Regions from separate parts of the Homo sapiens genome. Here region 1 is linked to region 2. The links are contacts of gene promoters, found by promoter capture Hi-C in human tissues and cell types (Jung and others, 2019). All regions are on one chromosome and are shown on one strand. Each heading gives the region's core, a stretch centred on a gene start or on the middle of the fragment in contact. The rest is flanking DNA. Distances are from core to core; before and after follow the strand shown.

Region 1 (6,656 bases), core at 156-2,655, 450 kb before region 2:
ATGATCCGTTTCCTTAACACAATTTTAAAACCACAGCTAGGGGTGTGAAAACGCATTTTTTTGTGCGTGTTTGTGTACCACAATCTGTCCAAATCCTTAATTCCCTTTTAAGTAACAGATATATAATAAAAATCCGAAAGAAACCACATTAGAAATGCAAAGAGGTTTGCAAAACAAGAGGCTTCTTTCATTCCAGAAAACCACACCAAAACAAGGGGAGAAAAATGAATGCAATGGATATGTGTTTGCCAAAGTTTCAATCCTGCCCGGTGGAGACACTGCACTGGCACAAATTTTGAAGAGGAAAAAAAGGGGGTTGGGGGGGGGAGAGAGAGCGAGCGAGTGTGGCCTGCAAACTGCAACAATGCAATCTCCATTTTGAACAATGCGCCTCTTTCCTCTTGTAAATCTAGTTTTTTGCCACTTGATGTGCCGTCGCATTTCCCCTCTGTTTGGGGGGGAGGCGGGGTTGGGGGGAGATCGGAGCAGGATGCACAGCACACGAGTGAGCAAGGGGGGAGGGCAGAGGAGGTGGGGAAGGAGTCTGCAGCAACTGGGCTGGGTGGGTACCTGGAGTGCTGCTGTAGGTACTATGGCTCCTGAAGCTGCTTTCCGTGCAGTAACTGGCGTCGTCGTCGTCGTCTTCCATCTCCTCCGGATAATCGGAGTCATCGTCGTCCTCTTCCATCTCATCCTCCTCGTCGTCCTCAGAATCCTGGGTCTCCTCGGCGTCGCCGTCCTCCTCCTCCTCCTCCTCGGAGACCATGTCCTCCTCTTCCTCCTCCTCCTCGCTCTCGTGGTCATCGTACACCACTTTGTTGACGGCCCTCCGGGCCGCGGTGGTCCGGGCCAGGTGGCCGCCGCCGCCCCCGCCCCCCGTCCTGCCGCCCCCGCCTCCTCGCCCCCCCCGGCCCGGGGCGCTGGTGCTGGGGGGGGCCGGCGGCGGCGGCGGCGGCTTCCTCCGGCTACTGCTGCCCCCCCTGGGCGAGCTCAGCCGCGTCTTGGGCGCCACCTCAGCCTGGGCGGCGGCCCACCTGCCCCGGCTGCTGCCGCGGTGCCGCGAGCGGAGCCCCCCGATGGGTCCGGACGTGGGCGGCGGCGGCGGTGGCGGCGGGGCCGGGGCGCAGCGCTCCGCAGCGGGAGCCGCGGGCTGCTTGGGCGGCCTGCCCCGCCGGCCCCTCATGTCGGAGCCGAGGCGGGGGGAGAAGGAAAGCGAAGGGGGAGGGGCGGGCGCAGGGGGGGCGGTGGGGAGCGCCGGGGCCGGGTGGGGAGGCCCGCGGGGCCGGGCGGGAGGGGCCCGGCCGACGGAAGCGGGTGGAGGGAGAAGGCTCAATCCGAATTGCTGGGGCCCCACTCCGGATCGCCTTCAGCCGCCATCTTGTTTCTTCCCTCTCGCTCGGTGACTGGGGGAACCGACAGCGGCCGCAGGCCCAGAGCGCGGTCACGTGAGCTGCGCCGCCGACGAGCCTGGGACGGAGCGAAGCGGCGCGGCGGCCGCTAGGGGGAGCGCGGGAGCGTCGAGTCGGGGGCGGGGAGCCCTGGGCGCCTGGGCTCGGCACAGCGCGGTGCGGCTGGACTCCGGGCGCGGGTGGCGCGGCAAAACTCCGGGCGCAGGTGGCGCGGCTGAGAGGGGCGCGCAGCTCGCGAAATGCCCGGCGTCAAAGGCCTTCGGAGACCAAAGTCTCCGCGGACCGCTGGCTGGAGCCCAAAGCCGGCCGGACCTCCTCCCCGCGTCTCCCCTTTCGCGGCTCGGAGAGGAAGGCAAGGGAGCCCCCAAATATCATTCCCTTCCCTCCCCCTATGGAAACTGATGCTGAAAGAGCCAGCGAGAGAAAGAAAAAAAAAAGTCGCGGAGAGGGGCGGCCCAAGCGACCGAGGGCACCGGGCAGCGCCAGCGACAGAGGGAAATTAGTCGAGGGGACAGAGAGACAAGCCCCCTGAACTTAGGAAACTCTGAAGCATGGAGCTGGAGTCCAGAAAATGACTCCAATGACAACTGCTCCGGATCTGTGCCAGGAGCCACGCCCCGGGCTGCCACGCCCGGAGGGAGGGGCGCCCTAAGACCTGTAGCGTGGAATCCGCACTGGGAAAGCCTCAGTAAACTCCAGAACGCAACTACTGCACGTTCCAATGTCCCGCCACCTTCCCAGTGCCCCAGCTAGGACTTCGATCACCTCAGCAAGAACTTACCTCTCCTTTGCAGTGGAAAAGAGGGAATCCTGCCTAAAACCTACTTCACGGTGTTAAATGTTTGTATTATCGGGAAATAACCTTAATTTATTGACCTGACAAGTCACTAGGTTTCAGCTTAGCCCAAAGGACGAATCATGATGACATTTCAGGCACCCTCAAACCTTATCACAGCGACTCAACCCTGAGTGGTTGAGGTCAGCTCTTTAGATAAGAGAAAGGTGTTATAAACATATGAATATTTATTGAGAGAAGTGACAACCGAAAAGTAATTTAAAGAAAAATAGTTGGCCGGGCGTGGTAGCTCACACCTGCAATCCCAGTCCTTTGAGAGGCCAAGGCCGGATGATAGCTTGAGGTCAAGAGTTCAAGACCAGCCTGGGCAACATAGCAGGACCTCGTCTTTAGAAAAAATTTGAAAAATTAGCCGGGCATGGTGGTGTGCACCTGTGGTCCCAGCTAGCGAGAGGCTGAGGTGGGAGGATTGCTTGAGCCTGGGAGGTGGATGTTGCAGTGAGCCGTGATTGCACCACTGCACTCCAGCTTGGGTGACAGAGCAAGACCCTGTCTCAATTTTTTTTAAAAAAGATGCTGGGCGCGGTGGCTCACGCCTGTAATCCCAGCACTTTGGGAGGCTGAGGAGGGCGGATCACCAGGGCAGGAGTTTGAGACCAGCCTGGCCAATATGGTGAAACCCCATCTCTACTAAAAATGCAAAAGTTCTGTACTAAAAATACAAAAGTTAGCCAGGCGTGGTGGTGCGTGCCTGTAGTCCCAGCTACTCCAGAGGCTGAGGCAGAAGAATCGCTTGAGCCTGGGAGGTGGAGGTTGCAGTGAGCCGAGATCGCACCACTGCACTCCAGCCTGGCAACAAAGCAAGACTCCGTCTCAAAAAAATAAAAATAAAAATATCTAACAGAATTCTGCATACCAAATGGCTTATTTCAGTCTTGTTAGGAAAATGGAACACATATGTGAAATGAAAATTAAAATACAAGCACTAATTGCCAGAGAAATGCATTCAATACAATTTGGTCGAGCTCTAAGGGTGACAAATGTGTATATGTCTCCAGGGACCAGGTAAGTAATGTAAGTCAATAAAGTAGGCAAGATGAAGACCTAGGCCAATGGAGGTGCCCATATTTTGTTTGAAGAGGGTGGTCAGGCACGGTGGCTCAGGCCTGTAATCCCAGCACTTGAGGAGGCCAGGTGGGCGGATCACTTGAGCCCAGGAGTTCGAGATTATCCTGGGCAACATGGTGAAATCCTGTCTACTAAAAATACAAAAATTAGCTGGGCATGGTGGCTCATGCGTGTAATCCCAACTACTTGGGAAGCGGACAGGAGAATCGCTTAAACCCAGGAGGCAGAGGCTGCAGTGAGCCAAGATCGTGCCACTGGACTCCAGTCTGGGTGACACAGCAAGACTCTATCTCAAAAAAAAAAAAAAGGTAGTGAGGAACTGAGAATTTTATTTGGAGACACAAAAATTGAAACCTTAAATATGCATATCCCAGCGATCTTGGTTCACTGCAAACTCCTAAGCTCAAGCAATCCACCCGCCTCCCTCCCAAAGTGCTGGGATTACAAGCTACAGCCACTGTGCCCAGCCACCCTCTTTAAACAAAATACGGGGCCAGGGCCGGGCGTGGTGGCTCATGCCTGTAATCCCAGCACTTTGGGAGGCAAAGGCAGGCAGATCACTTGAGGGCGGAAGTTCGAGACCAGCCTGGTCAACATGGTGAAACCCTGTCTCTACTAAAAACTAGCCAGGTGTGATGGAGCACCGGTAGTCCCAGCTATTTGTAAGACTGAGGCAGGAGAATCGCTTAACCTGGGAGGTGGAGGTTGTAGTGAGTGCAGATCACACCACTGCACTCCAGCCTGGGCAACAGAGCGAAAGTCTGTCTAAAAAAAAAAAAGCGGGGGGCACTTCCATTGGCCAAGTCCTCATCTTCCCCTACTTTGTTGACTTTCATTACTTACCTGGTTCCTGGAGGCATATACAGATTTGTCACCCATAGTGCTCAACCAAATTATATTGAATACATTTATTTGGCAATTAGTGCTTGTATTTTTTCATTTCACATATGTGTTATATTTTCCTATCTAGATTGAAATAAGCCACCAGGCGCAGTGGCTCATGCCTGTAATCCCAGCACTTTGGAAGGATGAGGCGGGCGGATCACCTGAGGTCAGGGGTTCGAGATCAGCCTGACCAACATGGTACAACCCCATCTCTACTAAAAATACAAAAATTAGCTGGACGTGGTGGCACTTGCCTGTAATCCCAGCTACTCTGGAGGCTGAGACAGGAGAATCGCTTGAACCCAGGAGACGGAGGTTGCAGTGAGCCAAGATCGCACCACTGTACTCCAGCCTGGGCGACAAAGTGAGACTCTGTCTCAAAAAAAGAAAAAAGAAATAAGCCATTTGGTGGACAGAATCAGAATCCTGTTAGGTTTCCTTTCTTTTCTTTCTTTCTTTTTAAATTTTGAGACGGGGTTTTGCTCTGTCACCCAGGCTAGAGTGAAGTGATGCAATCGCAGCTCACTGCAACGTCCACCTCCCAGGCTCAAGCAATCCTCTCACCTCAGCCTCCCGGGCAGCTGGGACCACAGGCGCGCACCACCATGCCCAGCTAATTTTCAAATTTTTTCTAGAGACAAGGTCCCACTATGTTGCGCGGGCTGGTCTCGAACTCCTGGCCTCAAGCTATTCTCTGGCCTCGGTCTCTCAAAGGGCTGGGATTGAAGGTGTGAGCCACCATGCCCAGACAACTATTTTTCTTTAAATTACTTTTTGGTAGTCATTTATTTCAATAAATATTAATATATGTTTATATTGCACTCCAGCATGTGTGACAGAGCAGGACCCTGTCTCAGAACAAAACACTACAGATTGATAAAAATATAAGCAGTCTTGGCCCGGTGTGGTGGCTCACACCTGTAATCCCAACACTATGGGAGTCTAGGGTGGGTTGATCACCTGAGGTCAGGAGTTTGAGACCATTCTGGCCAACATGGTGAAACCCCGTCTCCACTAAAAGTACAAAAATTAGCTGGGCGTGGCGCTGTGCACCTGCAATCCCAGCTACTAGGGAGGCAGGAGAATTGCTTGAACCCAGGAGGTGGAGGTTGCAGTCAGCCGAGATCGTGCCACTGCACTCTAGCCTGGACGACACAGCAAGACTCCATCTCAAAAAAGAAAAAATAAATAAAAAATAGGCAGTTTGGATATAGCCCAGAGTCTACTAGTTTGCAATGTATATCCTACATAGTGTGTAAAATGCTATGTACTGCCAGGTGCGGTGGCTCATACCTGTAATCCCAGCACTTTGGAAGGCTGAGGTGAGAGGATCACTTGAGCCCAGTAGTTTGAGGCAACATAGTGAGATCCCCAGCTCTAAAATTAAATAAGTATGCTATGTATTATAGGGAATACAAAGATATTAGAAGTGGGAATACCCTTCAAAATTTATAATTGAATAGTAAAGCAAAATTATTTACAAAAAGTGTACAATAGATGGAATGAGAGGTGTTTTGCATAACTTTTTTTTTTTTTTTTCAAGAAATGGTCTCGCTCTGTCACCCAGGCTGGAGTGCAGTGGCGCGATCTTGGCTCACTGCAACCTCCACCTGCCGGGCTCAAGCCATCCACCCACCTCAGCCTCCTGAGTAACTGGGACTGCAGGTGGCTGCCACCTTGCCCAGCTAATTTTGTATTTTTTTTTAGTAGAGACAGGGTTTCGCCATGTTGGCCAGGCTGGTCTTCAACTCCTGACCACAAGTGATCTGCCCGCCTCAGCCTCCCAAAGTGCTAGGATTATAGGCACGAGCCACTGCGCCCAGCCTACGACATGTCTTCTTGGGGAAGGGAGCGCTACTGGACATTTTTTGGCTAAGTGGAACAAATACTCAGTTCCTGACAAGCTGCACAGGTATGTGGTCACCTGGCTTTCAATCTTTGCTGGGGCCCAGGAGCAAAGTAAGACCAGTTTCCAGAAAGAATATTTATTAGCCAAAGAGAGCAAGGCTTTGATCCAAAACCCTAAGCACAACCATAGGATGCTCCTTTGCAGGGTTTTCATGCGCCCTTCATACAGCACCCCAGTATGTGGTTGTCCAGAGAGTGCTGTTGGGTACATTGGGTCATGAGGACCAATTAGCAGAAGTCCTTGCACCACAGCCTGGACCTGCTGAAGAATCTTCTCTTGCTCTGCCTTGTGGCTCAATGTTAGCAAGGCCTCAGGTCACTCTGAAAATGGGTTAAGGCAGCACAAACAAACGTGGTATATATAGTCTTCTTCTTCTTCTTTTTTTTTTTTTTTTTGAGACGGAGTCTCACTCTGTCACGTAGGCTAGAGTGCAGTGGCGTAACCTTGGCTCACTGCAACCTCTGCCTTCTGGGTTCAAGTGATTCTCCTGCCTCAGCCTCCTAAGTAACTGGGATTCGAGGCACACAGC
Region 2 (6,140 bases), core at 33-2,532:
GCCCCCCAAACCCCAGCTACAGCGCGCGCCGGGGGCTCTTGGGTTTGGTTTATTCATTTTCTTATTTGGAGGGAGGGGGCGCACCCACTCCCTTTGGCTCATAGTGATCCCCAACAGTCTGGATTCTGGGCGCCCCCGAAAAGCCCACCCGGAGTCCGCCGCCCCACCCAGCGCCGCCCTCCCCCGCTGGGGTGACAAGTGGAAGCCGCAAATCCCCTCCCTCCTCTCCTCCAGGCTTCGGGTTTGCGGGGTAACGTCCACCTGGGTTTCCTGCCGCTCGCCCGGGGCTCGCCGGCCAGGAGGCGGCGGTAGCGGCGGGGGTCCCGGAGCGGGCGAGGCCGGGCCGGGCGCGGCGCTTACCTCGTCTACGGTGAGCGGCATGCAGATCCGGTACTCTTTCAGCAGCATGGTCCTGCCGGCCGCGGACCCCCGGGGCGGGAAGCGGGGGGCGCCCCCAAGACCAGCAAGGCTGCTGCCCAGGCGCAGGGCAGGGCGCCCGGAGCCCGGCGCTCGGAGCCGGAGGGCGAAGCAGCCCCCGCGGCGCGCTCAGCTCCTGGCTTCCTCCTCTCCGCCCCAGAGCATGTCAGGGTTTGGGTCTGGGTGTTCGCAGCTCCCCCGCCTCCTCCCTCGCCGAGGCCGGTCCTCCCGGAACGCGGTGTTGCAAAGTCAGGGAGGCAGGGAGGGAGACCCGCTGGGGACGACTCTGCTCGGCTGCCCAGGGTGGTAGGAGCGGCCGCCAGATCAGGACATGCCCGGCAGCGAGCGAGGGAGGAAAAAAGAGAGATTTCCAAAAATTAAAACGAATGCACAAAAGTCACCCGCTCGATCCGCCTCCGAAAGCAGACGGGAACCTGGCGACCCCCCTCCTCCGGCGGGTCTGCCCGATGCTAATGTCACCAGGAACACATTGCAGCCGGAGCCGGAGATGCTGACTTTCCAGACAAAGGCTCGATCGGCTTCTCTCCGCGGGCGGTAAACAAGATTTCCTGCTCTTTTTAGGGCCGGTCCCCGCGCCGCTCCGGGGCTCGGCTCGGGGAGAAAAGGGAAGCCGCCGCCGCCGCCGCCGCTCGGCTCTGCCCGGCTGGGGCCCCGGGCGCCTCCAACCTCGGCTCGCGGCTGCCAGGGGCGGGCGGGAGGAAGCTGGCGCCTTCCGCGCGCGTCCCCTCCCCCGAGTCCCTCGGCTCCCCGGGCGCCGTGCGTGCCCGCGAGTTTGCAGCCACCTCGCCGGGGCCGGAGCGTCCGCGCCGATGCAGTGTGCCTGGGGCCGGGAGGTGGGTGCGGGAGGAGCGAGCGCGAGCGAGGCTGACATCAGCAGCGGCCGCGGCGGGGAGGGTAGCCCCATCCGGCCAATGGGGAAATGGCAAAGAATGTGGAGGATTTAAACAAAACAGCATGTCTCTGCCAGACGGCGGGGCTGCTCCGGAGCGGAGCCCGGCCGGCGCTGGGGAGGCTCGGGCAGAGGGGCTTTCCTCGGCTCCTTTGCCCTTTGAATCCGCTCTCCATTGTGCCCTGAGTGCTGCCGTGCTCCATCCAGCCCCTCTGGGAAGTTTCTGGTCCCCTGACCCTAGGGACAAGTCACCAATGCCCACCACCTATGTGTGGTCCAGTAAGCAAGTCTGGGGCTGGAGAGGCAATGGGTGGGATTTGGGAACAAACCCTTGCCTGGTTTCAGAGGAGAGATCCTGGAAAACTGGGAAGTGCAGCCGTGTGAATGGAAATGAAGTACAAACGGGGAGGGAACAACCAGAGAGAACATGAACCCCACGTAGCCTGTTACCTCGCCTGGCCCGGCTCTGCAATCTTTCTGCAGATTGTGCAGGCTCCGCGCAGCAGAAAGAAAGAGTAGGTTTTCGTATCCGCACTCCTAAGTTCAAAAAGTCACAGTGAAATGTCAATGAAAATGCCTGGAGTGTTGCTATTTGATCCATATTAAACAGATCTCTCATTTTAACCACAAGAAGCACATTCTTCAGTTACTCAGGAAGCAGCATGGAACTGCTGAAGTCTGTTTTTCATTTGTCTGGTATTTTTCAGCTTGTTTTTATGAAAAGTTGCCGGATGAAAAATGCATCAGTTGCCTGTATGAGAATAACCTGTAAGCGTTATCTTTTCTCCGAAAAATCTTCACGCTCTGAAGTCCTGAAGCTAGAGCTTAGATGGCGATGCAGATGCCTCAATACAGTATTTTGAATTGTGTTTAATTAATAAGTAATTAACCAATATGACGATGATGGGCTTGTGGCAAAAGTCATCCAGAGGGCTGGAGAGAATTTATAACTGTTAACTGATACAAACCCTCCTAGGAAAATGATACCCTATATCCAGCTTATATTTTAGTGGAAACTATTTTCCAGATAAATGCTTTCCAGAGTTGGCTCAGAAATATTCACAGCAACTAATTAAAGCTAAACCAAATTCCTCGAGGTGGAAAATCTAAATCTGACACTGCAGTGTTGAATAATAACACATTGGAAGGCTGTGATATGGAAAGAAACTCAAGCTGTTTTTCCTTTTTTTTTTTTTTTTTTTGCTTCTTACTTGAAAACAAATGGAAGACCTAATAATCTTCCCAGAGGCAGGAAGGCAAGGGATTGGCTAGCCACACATGCGCATGCACTTGGGACATCGGGATGTGTAGGCTCAGTTCCTGGCTTCCTGGACATTTCCTGACACTGATTCTGGAAGGAAGTATTCTACTGACGGGTGACACTGTTGAGGAGCTACTTCTCTGAATTTCCCGAACTGTAAATTGTCACATATATGCTTCCTCCATCATCCGTCTTGTTGCTGTTATTGGTTTGTGATGGAGTTTCGCTCTTGTTGCCCAGGCTGGAGTGCAATGGCATGATCTCGGCTCACTGCAACCTCCACCTCCCGGGTTCAAGCAAGTCTTCTGCCTCAGCCTCTGGAGTAGCTGGGATTACAGGCACCGGCCACCACGCCTGGCTAATTTTGTATTTTTAGTAGAGATGGAGTTTCACCATGTTGGTCAGGCTGGTCTCAAACTCCTGAGCTCAGGTGATGGCCTCGGCCTCCCAAAGTGCTGGGATTACAGGTGTGAGCCACCGCGCCCAGCCCACCCCTCCTGTTGTAAGGTGACTTCTCCATTGGATTCTCATTTTCTTTTCATTCATTGCATCCGCAAACCTGGTCATATTAATCTTGTGCAAGTACAGCTCTCATCCTGCCACCTTCAAACCTTTTAGTGATTCCTGGCTGGGCTCGGTGGCTCACCCCTGTAATCCCAGCACTTTGGGAGGGGAGGTGGGCCGATCGCATGAGCCCAGGAGTTCAAGACCAGCCTGGGAAACATGCTGAAACCCTGTCTCTAAAATTTAAAAATATATAAAAACCTTTTAGGGCTTCTCTATGGCCTACTGAGCAAGTCAAAATGCTTTGGTAGGAGGTTCAAGGCTCTGGATCTACCTTTCCCACATTAGTCCATTACCCTTCCCAGCCCAACTCCAGCCAAATGAGACGAGTCAGTTGGCTGCAAAAGCCCCTCCTCCCCGGCCACCTTTCTAGCTCAACCCTTCTGCTGTTCAACCCGTTGCCTTCACAGAGAATCCCTCTCCCCAATTCAATCCCCATGACACCATTTTAAAGCCAGGCCTTGGCAATCTGCGCTTCAGACAGTGGTTCTGATAGCAGTGAGCTGGAGGGGCTAGCAGAGGCGGGAGGGGCTGGTGCAGGGCATAGGGAGGGCATATTCATTCATAAGTCATGCACACTGAGGGCGGGGCGCGCCATCTACTGGCCAAGCACTGTGGTTTTAAGTCCTGTCCTCAGCAAGTGTCTGGCAAGAATTGTATCTTTGTTTCTTCTCAACCAATGAAGTCGCAATATCTACTTACGAAGAGCCTTGAAGCTGTTGCTATCATCATTATGGACAGTCATGATGTTCCATTAACAATGTACAATCTGCCGTGGCTGATCATCACATTTTTTTAAATGGGGGTGGGACACAAAAGGCAAAAAGAGGAACAAAACAGTAAAGTTACCAGAGAGGAATGATAAGACAAAGAGGAAAAGAATATGAGGCTGTGCATGTCTGTGACAGCATCTGTTCTCAGATAAGTGACAGTCTCTGAAAGCAGGGGTTCTCAAAACGCAGGAGGGGGTATGGCACACCAAGATAATCTAAGAAGACTGTCAACCTATTCTCTTCGAGGCATTCTGATGATCTCTTTAATCCTCCATGTCTGTGTGAAAAAACTAATAAGGTCTTGACCCACCTCTGTAAACAGCCTCTGAAAGAAAAGTGTACTAACAGGAATTTCTGACGATTAAAAAATGAAGGCCGGGCATGGTGGCTCACGCCTGTAATCCCAACACTTTGGGAGGCCGAAGTGGGCGAATCACTTGAGATCAGAAGTTCGAGACCACCCTCGCCAATATGGTGAAACCCCGTCTCTACTAAAAATACAAAAAGTAGCTAGGCGTGGTGGCTCGCGCCTGTAGTCCCAGCTACTTGGGAGGCTGAGGCAGGAGAATTGCTTGAATCTGGGAGGCGGAGGTTGCAGTGAGCCGAAATCATGCCACTGCACTCCAGCCTGGGTGACAGAACAAGACTCCATCTCAAAAAAAAAAAAAAAAGATTTGTCCCTTCTCTATATATATTTATTCAAATATATATATATATATATATATATATATATATATATATATATCTGTGTGGATTTGTGCTTATTTATTCTATACTTCAAGTTATAATCAACATTATGTTATTTATTTTGCTGCTCAGACAGTTCCAGCATTGGCTGTTGGGAGCTCTTTCTGGTTGGCTCCTATGTGCTTTTGACATGGCCTCTTTTTGTTTTTTGTTTTTTGGTTTTTTTTTTTTTGAGCCGGAGTCTTGCTCTGTCACCCAGGCTAGAGTGCAATGGCTTGATCTCAGCTCACTGCAACCTACGCCTCCCAGGTTTATGCGATTCTCCTGCCTCAGCCTCCCAAGTAGCTGGGATTACAGGCATCCGCCACCACGCCCGGCTAATTATTTGTATTTTTAGTAGAGACGGGGTTTCACCGTGTTGGCCAGCTGGTCGCGAACTCCTGACCTCAGGTGATCCACCCGCCTCGGCCTCCCAGAGTGCTGGGATTACAGGCGTGACCCACGGTGCCCGGCCAACATGGCCTCTTTTTTATAACATTTTAAAAATCAAATGTTATTCTTGCATTTTTTTTCTTTTTTTTTTTTTTGAGACAGGGTCTCACTCTGTCACCCAGGCTTCTGTGGAGCAGCATGATATCAGCTCACTGCAACCTCCACCTCCCAGGTTCAAGTGATCTTCTGGCCTCAGCCTCCCAAGTAGCCGGGACTACAGGCACATGCCACCATGCCAGGCAATTTTTGTATTTCTTTTGTAGAGATGGCATTCTGCCATGTTATCCAGGCTGGTCTGAAACTTTTGAGCTCAAGCGATCCAACTACCTTGGCCTCCCAAAGTGCTGGGTATAGTGTGAACCACTGTGCCCAGCCTACAATTAATTTTTGTTTTATTAAATATTACTTGCTTAATTCCAACAAAGGCTAAGTGTTTGTGTGTGTGTTTGTGTTTAAATACCTGTATATTTGATCTTGTTTGGTTACTAAGCTAATGTTAAATTCTTTCTTAATGACACAGAGGAAGTCCCAAGGCAATTCTTATGTATAGACCCACCCATCTATCAGGCCTCTGTTAAATATAGACAATGTCTTTGATGTGGAATTGCTTGTATTTTTGCAGTAAATGCCCATAAAATAAAAGTGAATTGACAATGATGTGTTACAAATTGCTTCACATAGAAAAAAAACTGGAGGTTCTGTGGCCAAAGGTATAGTTTCTTTTTTAAATAAGTAAGATAGCAATAAATTGGCCAGTGCGGTGGCTCACACCTGTAATCCCAGCACTTTGGGAGGCCAAGGCAGGCAGATCACTTGAGGTCAGGAGTTCGAGACCAGCCTGGTCAACACGGTGAAACACCGTCTCTACTAGAAAAAATACAAAAATTAGCCACAGGGGACAGTGGCATGATCATAGCTCACTGCAGCCTCAAACTCCTGGGCTCAAAGGATCCTCCCACCTCAGCCTCCTGAGTAGCTAGGATAACAGACATACCACACCCAGCTAATTTTTAACATATTTTGTAGAAACAGGGTC

Evidence for each region. The method cuts DNA at HindIII sites, captures the fragments that hold promoters and counts their contacts. A contact is called where the count stands out against the background at its distance.
Region 1: the fragment with the promoter of BPTF here is called in contact with the fragment with the promoter of PITPNC1 in region 2 in 2 of the 25 tissues and cell types used here (lymphoblastoid cells and spleen).

Annotation. Positions count from the first base shown.
Region 1 is chr17:67,820,252-67,826,907 of GRCh38, reverse strand. It overlaps BPTF (bromodomain PHD finger transcription factor), which reads right to left and starts at 1,405. Exons shown (of 28, transcript NM_182641.4): 1 at 571-1,405. The coding sequence starts at 1,183. RefSeq lists enhancers at 532-801, 764-1,459, 1,460-2,157 and silencers at 852-1,051, 1,232-1,281, 1,482-1,551. The HindIII fragment of the contact is 39,315 bases long and covers 1-6,656 here.
Region 2 is chr17:67,372,423-67,378,562 of GRCh38, reverse strand. It overlaps PITPNC1 (phosphatidylinositol transfer protein cytoplasmic 1), which reads right to left and starts at 1,282. Exons shown (of 9, transcript NM_012417.4): 1 at 361-1,282. The coding sequence starts at 408. RefSeq lists silencers at 1-197, 208-627, 978-1,227, 1,278-1,397, 3,639-3,718 and an enhancer at 783-1,476. The HindIII fragment of the contact is 14,929 bases long and covers 1-2,050 here.